Regions from separate parts of the Homo sapiens genome. Here regions 2 and 3 are each linked to region 1. The links are contacts of gene promoters, found by promoter capture Hi-C in human tissues and cell types (Jung and others, 2019). All regions are on one chromosome and are shown on one strand. Each heading gives the region's core, a stretch centred on a gene start or on the middle of the fragment in contact. The rest is flanking DNA. Distances are from core to core; before and after follow the strand shown.

Region 1 (2,944 bases), core at 239-2,738:
TTTTGCTGTTTGGGCGTGTAAACGTTTGGGCTTGTAAATGTTTTAAAACATTGGCAAATAAAGTACTTTGAATTATGTTTCGAGTAGTGTTTCAAAGTATATTATACACGGGTTTCAAATAGAAAAACTAAAAGGTGGAATAAAACAATTTGGAAGAGTTTAGTAAAGCGTATAAAAATTAAAGGACTAAAAAACCCACTTCATTTTAAATGTGTAAAAATAAATCGCATCCATTCGTGGGAATCCAGTGACTTTTTCCTTTTCTTTCTTTCTTTTTTGGTTTTAGTTAGCTGGTACGTACTGCACCCTCCACAACACGTTGGAAATTAGGTCCTGGTACACACTAAGGAATATCCAGCCAGGTAAATACATCAGGGTGATGAGGCCCATAAAATTGAGCGGGTAGTGAGAATAGTCCCAGGAACAAGCCCCGCACGTGCGGAGTCCCAGACCCCAGGACAGCTCCCACACGTAGATGAAGATCACGTAGATGGGCACCCGCTTCCAAGTGCCCCAACCGCGGCTGTAGTGGAGGTGGAAGTAGAGCTTTTCCACCACGAAACTGCAGCTGCCGTACATAAAGAAGGACCAGAGCGACGTGTGGCCGCTGGTTGTCCCGTCCCCCTGCCCCAGTACGTTGAAGAAGAAGGTGAAGAAGATCTCATCCAGAAAGCCGTGCATTCCGAAGAAAAGAAAGCGGGGTAGGTCGGGCAGCCCCTGGCTGGGGGCTCCCCCGGCGCCCCTGGGGCCACGGGGTCGTCGCCGCCGGGCTCCGGCCGCAGTAGGGACCCGGGCGCCGGGAGGGACGGGGAGCGCGCCCCTCCGCTGCTGCTGCTGCTGCTGCTGCTGCTGTTGCTGCTGCCGCCGCCTCTGTCGCCCGTACCGCAAGCGCAGGAAGCGCTTCAGGAACACTTGGCAGTGGTAGAGCGCCAGCACGTACTGCAGCGCCAGGTCCAGCGCCCCTGGCGCCACCGCGACCCCCGCCCCGCCGCCCAGGCTGAGTAGTAGCGCCTGGCCCGCTAGGGTCTGCAGCCCCACGTGGGCCGAGGGGTAGAGGAGGAAATTGAAGACGAAGGCGTTGGGACAGCGCCGCTGCTGCAGGTACACCTTCTCCAGGGCGAAATGGGTGAGCGAGTGCAGCAGGCAGCGGTAGGGCGAGGAGAAGCCTAGCATCCGCAGGTCCGGGCTGCGGGCGAAGCGCCGGGCCGAGGACACCAGCACGTCCAGGGTGATCCCGTGCATCCCGTAGAAGTAGAGGCGCATCCAGGCGGGCAGCGTGGCGCTCTCAGCCGGCGCTTCAGCAGTGGACAGCGGCTCCGGGCAGCCGGCTGCCGCCTCGCTTCCTGGCCCGCCAGGGGCCCCCGGACGCCGCGCCGCGCCGCCCCTCCGTGCGGGGCCCTCGCTGTCCACGTCGCTCCCCGCCATGGGCTCGGAGGCTGTCCGAACGCCCGAGGCTGCACCGCCGCCGCTGCCGGGTGCGCGGAGCTGCAGGGCCGAGCGGCCGAGCCCCGCGCCGCCTCCTGGCCGCTGCCGGCCCCCGGGGGGCGCGCAGGGAGCTCCGTCCCGGCCGCGGTCCCGCGGCAGCGGGGGCTGATGCACTCAGGGGACTCGCGGGCCGCCCGGCTAGCGGAATCCCCCCGCCGTGGCCCCGCTGCGCCCTCCCTTCCAGTCCCGGGCGAGGTGCCGCCCGCCCGCGCCCGCTCTAGCTCTCACCCTGCGCGGCCTAACGGGCACCGCGGCCCAGCCAGGGGAGGCGGCGCCGGGGCTGTGAGGGGAAATGCAGAAGCTTGTGGAAGCCCCATCCCCTCCGCTGCTTAGCCCCGCGCCTCCGCTGCAGGCTCTGGGAACGTAACGCGAGCAGCGGCGGCCCTGCCCCCGCCCTGCCAATGCCCCTCTCCGCCTGCCTCGACCTCTCCCGCCTTCTCAGGCCGCCCCCACGCGCCCGCCCGCCGCACCGAGTCCCACAGGGTCTGCTCGGGAAGGCCCGGCCCTGCTTCTTCCTCCCGGTGCGCCCACTCAACACAGGGGCTCCGGTCGTGCGGGGGGCGCTTGCTGGGCGGAGGCACTGAGTGGAGAAACACCTAACAGGTGTGACTGCAAGTTGATGGGCATTCCCTGCATCGCGGCAATCAGGGCCAGGGCCTGGCTGGCGGAGACGAATGGCTGAGTGCCACGGGCTGGAGGCTGGGCTCAAGACCAAAATATGGTGCTGTATACTTAATGTTCTTATTCAAAGCCAGCTGTGTCCCAGTCATAGAGAATAAACTCGAGACTCCACGCCTGCCCGCCCCTGCGTTACCCTCCATCTAAATTGCTGCCGCGGGGCCTGATCCACTTTTCCAATCTATTTCTTGGCCCATCTACTTTTCTGGGTTTACTCAAGGCCAAGGACAGAGATTCGATGTCCCCCAGAATTTGTGAAATGATTTCAGGCCAGTTGGGTTGGGTTGGGGTGTGGAGAAGAGGAAATGCTTTGTTCTAGCTACTGTGGGGTCTCAGGTGGAGAATAGTACCTCGTCCTGGCACACCCCGCTGCTGGGTTCTTCTTTTGGCAGAACTAGGTCATCCCAGAAATGGAGAGTGACATAAAGGGCCAGGGTTTATCTTTTTCTATCTTTTCCCTCCCTCCCTTCACCTCTCCCCTCTTCTCCCTTCCCTCATTCCCTACTTCCTCCCCTCCCCTCCCCTCCCCTCCAATCCCTCCCTCCCTCTCTCTCTCCCTTCCTCCCTCTTTATCTCCTTCCTTCCTTCCTTCCTTCCTTCCTTCCTTCCTTCCTTCCTTCCTTGGTTGAGAGAGTGGAAGGGGTTCAGAATGTTGGTGTGTTGGTTCCACCATTCTCTCCAATTTTGAATCAGTCTTGGAACTGGAAAGAGCCTCGGGGGTGAATTATACCGATTACCTCCCTCTTTCTCCTCCTTCCCCCGAAATTCATGTGCGGATAGA
Region 2 (2,944 bases), core at 233-2,732, 62 kb after region 1:
CTTAAAATTCAACATAAACTGTCTCAAAAAACCACAGTGGTCCTCTGACAAATTACAAAGGGCTTCATTAGATTTCAACAACTAGACTCTCTGGCTACTGCAGTCTTAAAGAGCCTTACATCTTCTCACAGCCAGACAAGAAAAAACATGTTTGTGTCTAAAAAATAAAATACTTTTTTTACATTAATCAGTCCAGTTTGGTCCAAAGACATATTAAAAATATCATTATCCAAGCAGACAAAATTAAATCTTTAAAAACTTCCATAGACTTAAAAACAATAGCTGTTGTCTGCCCTGCTCCCTTTAGTAGTGTCAATTATTACCATACTTTTAGCTTTAATTTTTGGTCCAACTTTGTTTGAAATGCTAACTACTTTATTACTCTCTCACTCACAATTCCAAGTCCACATGATGGTTTTCCAAAGCTTCCAACCTTTGACTACTAATAGAACATCTCACATCTTGCCCACCAGTCCCACAGACAACATGGCTTACACCCCATTAGACAAGACAGAAAAAAAACTCTAGGGCCCAGGCTTGGCAGGGACAATGCCTCACTTAGTAGGAAACAACTAAAAAAAAAATGAGTAACAACCTAGCTCCTCAACCTCCTGTATGATTATGGGCCCTAAATTTCTGTTTCTTTTTTGTTTATTATTATTATTATTATTATACTTTAAGTTATAGGGTACATGTGCACAATGTGCAGGTTAGTTACATATGTATACATGTGCCATGCTGGTGTGTTGCACCCATTAACTCATCATTTAGCATTAGGTATATCTCCTAATGCTATCCCTCCCCACTCCCCTCACCCCACAACAGTCCCCAGAGTGTGATGTTCCCCTTCCTGTGTCCATGTGTTCTCATTGTTCAATTCCCATCTATGAGTGAGAACATGTGGTGTTTGGTTTTTTGTCCTTGCGATAGTTTACTGAGAATGATGATTTCCAATTTCATCCATGTCCCTACAAAGGACATGAACTCATCATTTTTTATGGCTGCATAGTATTCCATGGTGTATATGTACCACATTTTCTTAATCCAGTCTATCATTGTTGGACATTTGGGTTGGTTCCAAGTCTTTGCTATTGTGAATAGTGCCACAATAAACATACGTGTGCATGTGTCTTTATAGCAGCATGATTTATAGTCCTTTGGGTATATACCCAGTAATGGGATGGCTGGGTCAAATGGTATTTCTAGTTCTAGATCCCTGAGGAATCGCCACACTGACTTCCACAATGGTTGAACTAGTTCACAGTCCCACCAACAGTGTAAAAGTGTTCCTATTTCTCCACATCCTCTCCAGCACCTGTTGTTTCCTGACTTTTTAATGATTGCCATTCTAACTGGTGTGAGATGGTATCTCATTGTGGTTTTGATTTGCATTTCTCTGATGGCCAGTGATGATGAGCATTTTTTCATGTGTCTTTTGGCTGCATAAATGCCTTCTTTTGAGAAGTGTCTGTTCATATCCTTTGCCCACTTTTTGATGGGGTTGTTTGTTTTTTTCTTGTAAATTTGTTTGAGTTCATTGTAGATTCTGCATATTAGCCCTTTGTCAGATGAGTAGGTTGAGAAAATTTTCTCCCATTCTGTAGGTTGCCTGTTCACTCTGATGGTAGTTTCTTTTGCTGTGCAGAAGCTCTTTAGTTTAATTAGATCCCATTTGTCAATTTTGGCTTTTGTTGCCATTGCTTTTGGTGTTTTAGACATGAAGTCCTTGCCCATGCTTATGTCCTGAATGGTAATGCCTAGGTTTTCTTCTAGGGTTTTTATGGTTTTAGGTCTAATGTTTAAGTCTTTAATCCATCTTGAATTAATTTTTGTATAAGGTGTAAGGAAGGGATCCAGTTTCAACTTTCTCCATATGGCTAGCCAGTTTTCCCAGCACCATTTATTAAATAGGGAATCCTTTCCCCATTGCTTGTTTTTCTCAGGTTTGTCAAAGATCAGATAGTTGTAGATATGCGGCGTTATTTCTGAGGGCTCTGTTCTGTTCCACTGATCTATATCTCTGTTTTGGTACCAGTACCATGCTGTTTTGGTTACTGTAGCCTTGTAGTATAGTTTGAAGTCAGGTAGCGTGATCCCTCCAGCTTTGTTCTTTTGGCTTAGGATTGACTTGGCGATGCGGGCTCTTTTTTGGTGCCATATGAACTTTAAAGGAGTTTTTTCCAATTCTGTGAAGAAAGTCATTGGTAGCTTGATGGGGATGGCATTGAATCTATAAATTACCTTGGGCAGTATGGCCATTTTCATGATATTGATTCTTCCTACCCATGAGCATGGAATGTTCTTCCATTTGTTTGTATCCTCTTTTATTTCCTTGAGCAGTGGTTTGTAGTTCTCCTTGAAGAGGTCCTTCACATCCCTTGTAAGTTGGATTCCTAGGTATTTTATTCTCTTTGAAGCAATTGTGAATGGGAGTTCACTCAAGATTTGGCTGTTTGTCTGTTATTGGTGTATAAGAATGCTTGTGATTTTTGTACATTGATTTTGTATCCTGAGACTTTGCTGAAGTTGCTTATCAGCTTAAGGAGATTTTGGGCTTAGACGATGGGGTTTTCTAGATATATAATCATGTCGTCTGCAAACAGGGACAATTTGACTTCCTCTTTTCCTAATTGAACACCCTTTATTTCCTTTTCCTGCCTAATTGCCCTGGCCAGAACTTCCAACACTATGTTGAATAGGAGTGGTGAGAGAGGGCATCCCTGTCTTGTGCCAGTTTTCAAAGGGAATGCTTCCAGTTTTTGCCCATTCAGTATGATATTGGCTGTGGGTTTGTCATAGATAGCTCTTATTATTTTAAGAAATGTCCCATCAATACCTAATTTATTGAGAGTTTTTACAATGAAGCGTTGTTGAATTTTGTCAAAGGCCTTTTCTGCATCTATTGAGATAATCATGTGGTTTTTGACTTTGGTTCTGTTTATAT
Region 3 (2,944 bases), core at 168-2,667, 37 kb after region 1:
GCTGGGCCAATAGTACAATATGCCCCATAGGTTGTGATTGGACTGAAGAATAGTTTTGTAACCCAAGCTATTTCAACTAGAATCCTTTTGCATTGTAGATGCACTCCTCAAGAGGAGGATAAAGATGATGTGATTCTGATGTTAGCAGCAGCCATATTGCCCATTGCCTAGAAGACTGCAAAAGAATCTTGAGAAAATTAATTCAAGCAGAAACAAGTGTAGGTGATAGCTGAAATTTAGAGGCATATTTATATTTGTTTGTGCCTTTGAGAATATTCCTCTTTCTTCTCTCCAGTTGTGTAAGTCCATAAATAACTTTTAAACTTTTTTTCTTAAGCTAGATTTGAATTTGGATCTCTATTGTCAACCAAAGACTGTTAACTAATATACCTCTTTCTGCACCCCACCATCATGAACTTGGGTCATGTGAATTATGAGATAAAAAATAGCCTCCATTAGAAGACTGTAGAGAGAGGGAGATCCTCCAAAGAAAGTCAAATTTTAGTTAAGACAAGAAGCTATAAAGAGCTTGTTTACAATAAAACAGGGTTTTAGAGGCCAGGATTGAAAGTGATGGAAGAGTGGGGAGTGTGAGAAGCAGGGTGACAGCAAAGGAAACACTGAATAGAGAAGAGCTTAAGAATAGGAAGTCATTTTGAAATGATTAAAGGGTTGTCACTATACATTTTATACCTTATAAGTAAGGTATAAAATAACAGTCATTTTTACAACTATATACATAATAAAATTTAGTTCAGATGTTATCAAAAATACCTACTTATGTGAGGTATCTAAAGTAGTCAAATTCATAGAAACAGAAAGTAGAATGATGGTTACCAGGGGCTTGGAGGAGGGAAAAATGGGGAGTTGTTTAATGAGCATAAAATTTCAGTTTTGCAAGATGAGAAAGTTTTGGAGATCTGTTGTTCAACAATGTGAATATTCTTAACACAACTGAAATGTATACCTTAAAATGGTTAAGATGGTAAATTTTGTGTTATGTGTTATTTTAACCTAAATTTAAAAAATTAGTTCAACTAATATAATTTGCATAACACCATGAAGAGTTAAAATGTGGGAATGTATCTAGAATACCAATGAAATGAAGGTACATTTTCAGAACAGGCACAATGTTACTGAATATCCCGGTGTAGATGCGGTTTCTGCCTCAGGAAGGTAAAATCTAAATTGGAGATGGTGACTGATCAAAGGTCAGGAAGGAGTCTGAAGAGAAAATATCACACTTAATAACTACCTTATGCTTTAGTAGAATGATATACAACAGAGAATTTGGGCTCACTTTGGAATTGCAATGAAGGGGAAAGAAAGGAACGATTGAATGGAATAAAAATAAACCAAGCAGCTCCTGTGTGGAGAATGATTACATCTTTAGTGTAATTTTCTCTGTAATGGAGGGGCCTTTAGCAAAACCCAGGAGGAAATTTTAGAGGTGATATGCTGGATGTGAAGGAGTCTGACTGCTAATCTTGCCAAGGGTCTCAGAATGTGTGTATTTTTTGCTGGTATATATTTTTTGAAATAAGCTTCAAGAAATTTCTAGATTGAGCTGGATCCACTCCCAGAAATCAATCTTCCTATTTTACAAATAGAGTTTTACAGATTGTTTCTAACTAACTTTGAGTTTGTTCAAGTTCATCCAACTAATGGATGGCATAGTTAAATCACAAGTCTCTGGATGTTCTTTGTAGTATTTTTCTCAAATGTGAATTTGGCTATCCACCATATTGAATCACTAGAAGGCGTTGTCTGTTCACTTTTCTATCATTATCATCATCGTTACCACAGCAGCGGCAGCAGCAGAAGTAGTATTTTGGTCATTGTTATTAAAAATTGTCAGCAAAAGGTACAGGGGTTATTTTCAAAGCTGTAAGTAGCCTTAGCTGAAACTAGGTAATAATCTCCCTTTCAATGTTCACATTTCCTTCAATTAGAAAAAGACATATTATAAGGAAAATGGTGCTGACAAAAATGAATGTGGAGTATAACTTCAAGAATTTATTCCCCAAATTCTCACAAATATGTGTCCCAATTTTGATTCTTGAAAAATAGGCCACAGTTTACCGCTTCTAAGTGGGTAAGAGTCAAGCTGGGTGATAAAGTAGTCTTTCTAACGTTAATATGCACTTGCTTTTGCTTTTTGTGAGCAGACGCCAAACATTCTGTACCCACCTTTCTGCCCTTTTCCACTTTTTTCTGACCCCTCTACTCTCTCCTCATAAACATCAAAGTTGCTTGAGTTTAGGTTGAAAAAGCAAAACCATTCCAATTTCTTGTGCTGTCTCTGAATTAACCTAATACAGTGACCATATAATTTATCAATTAAATCTGGACATTTTGAGAGAAGTGGAGGCACTATTAAAATTACACTCTAATAACTGGTATAAACAGTGATTGTCCTCGACAAATGGGAATATATGGCTACTCTATACAGTAAGACAAGGTTTAGTCTATCTCCAAGAGCATCTTTTTAGATCTAACCTAATCATCTATAAAAATATGAAACAAAATAATATGATGGTGTTCAGAATTCTGAGAGGTAGACTATTCAATTATTTGGCACTGGACTGTGTGTATTTCAGAGCCAACGTTGCTTCATGAGAACAAGATGAAATTATGATGAAGATGACTAGTTAAGCTTTTTAAGTATTTGTTTCAGATGAACATTTAGATGTTTATTAAGTGTTATTATTTATTGTGCTAGAAATAGGGTAAATAAATTAGGAACATGTTTTAGTATAAATAAACAAGTAATATTTCTGATTCTGGTATAATATTAGAAAACCTGGAAATGATTACTGAAGTTTATGCTTACTATATTTACCTAAAAATCAGCTTATTCAAATATATTCAAAATCAGATTATTCAAATATATTCAAAATCAGATTATTCAAATACTATTTAAAAATCAGCTTAAATCAGAAAT

The links. The method cuts DNA at HindIII sites, captures the fragments that hold promoters and counts their contacts. A contact is called where the count stands out against the background at its distance.
Region 2: a contact is called between a fragment that was not itself captured here and the fragment with the promoter of TMEM229A in region 1, in 4 of the 25 tissues and cell types used here (bladder, dorsolateral prefrontal cortex, hippocampus and 1 more).
Region 3: a contact is called between a fragment that was not itself captured here and the fragment with the promoter of TMEM229A in region 1, in 3 of the 25 tissues and cell types used here (dorsolateral prefrontal cortex, hippocampus and thymus).

Annotation. Positions count from the first base shown.
Region 1 is chr7:124,031,579-124,034,522 of GRCh38, forward strand. TMEM229A (transmembrane protein 229A) reads right to left here and starts at 1,489. Exons shown (of 1, transcript NM_001136002.2): 1 at 1-1,489. The coding sequence starts at 1,425. The coding sequence ends at 283. The HindIII fragment of the contact is 14,772 bases long and covers 1-2,944 here.
Region 2 is chr7:124,093,434-124,096,377 of GRCh38, forward strand. No RefSeq gene overlaps it. Among named protein-coding and RNA genes, the nearest start is that of TMEM229A, 62 kb to the left of the region's middle. The HindIII fragment of the contact is 4,980 bases long and covers 1-2,944 here.
Region 3 is chr7:124,068,666-124,071,609 of GRCh38, forward strand. No RefSeq gene overlaps it. Among named protein-coding and RNA genes, the nearest start is that of TMEM229A, 37 kb to the left of the region's middle. The HindIII fragment of the contact is 3,265 bases long and covers 1-2,944 here.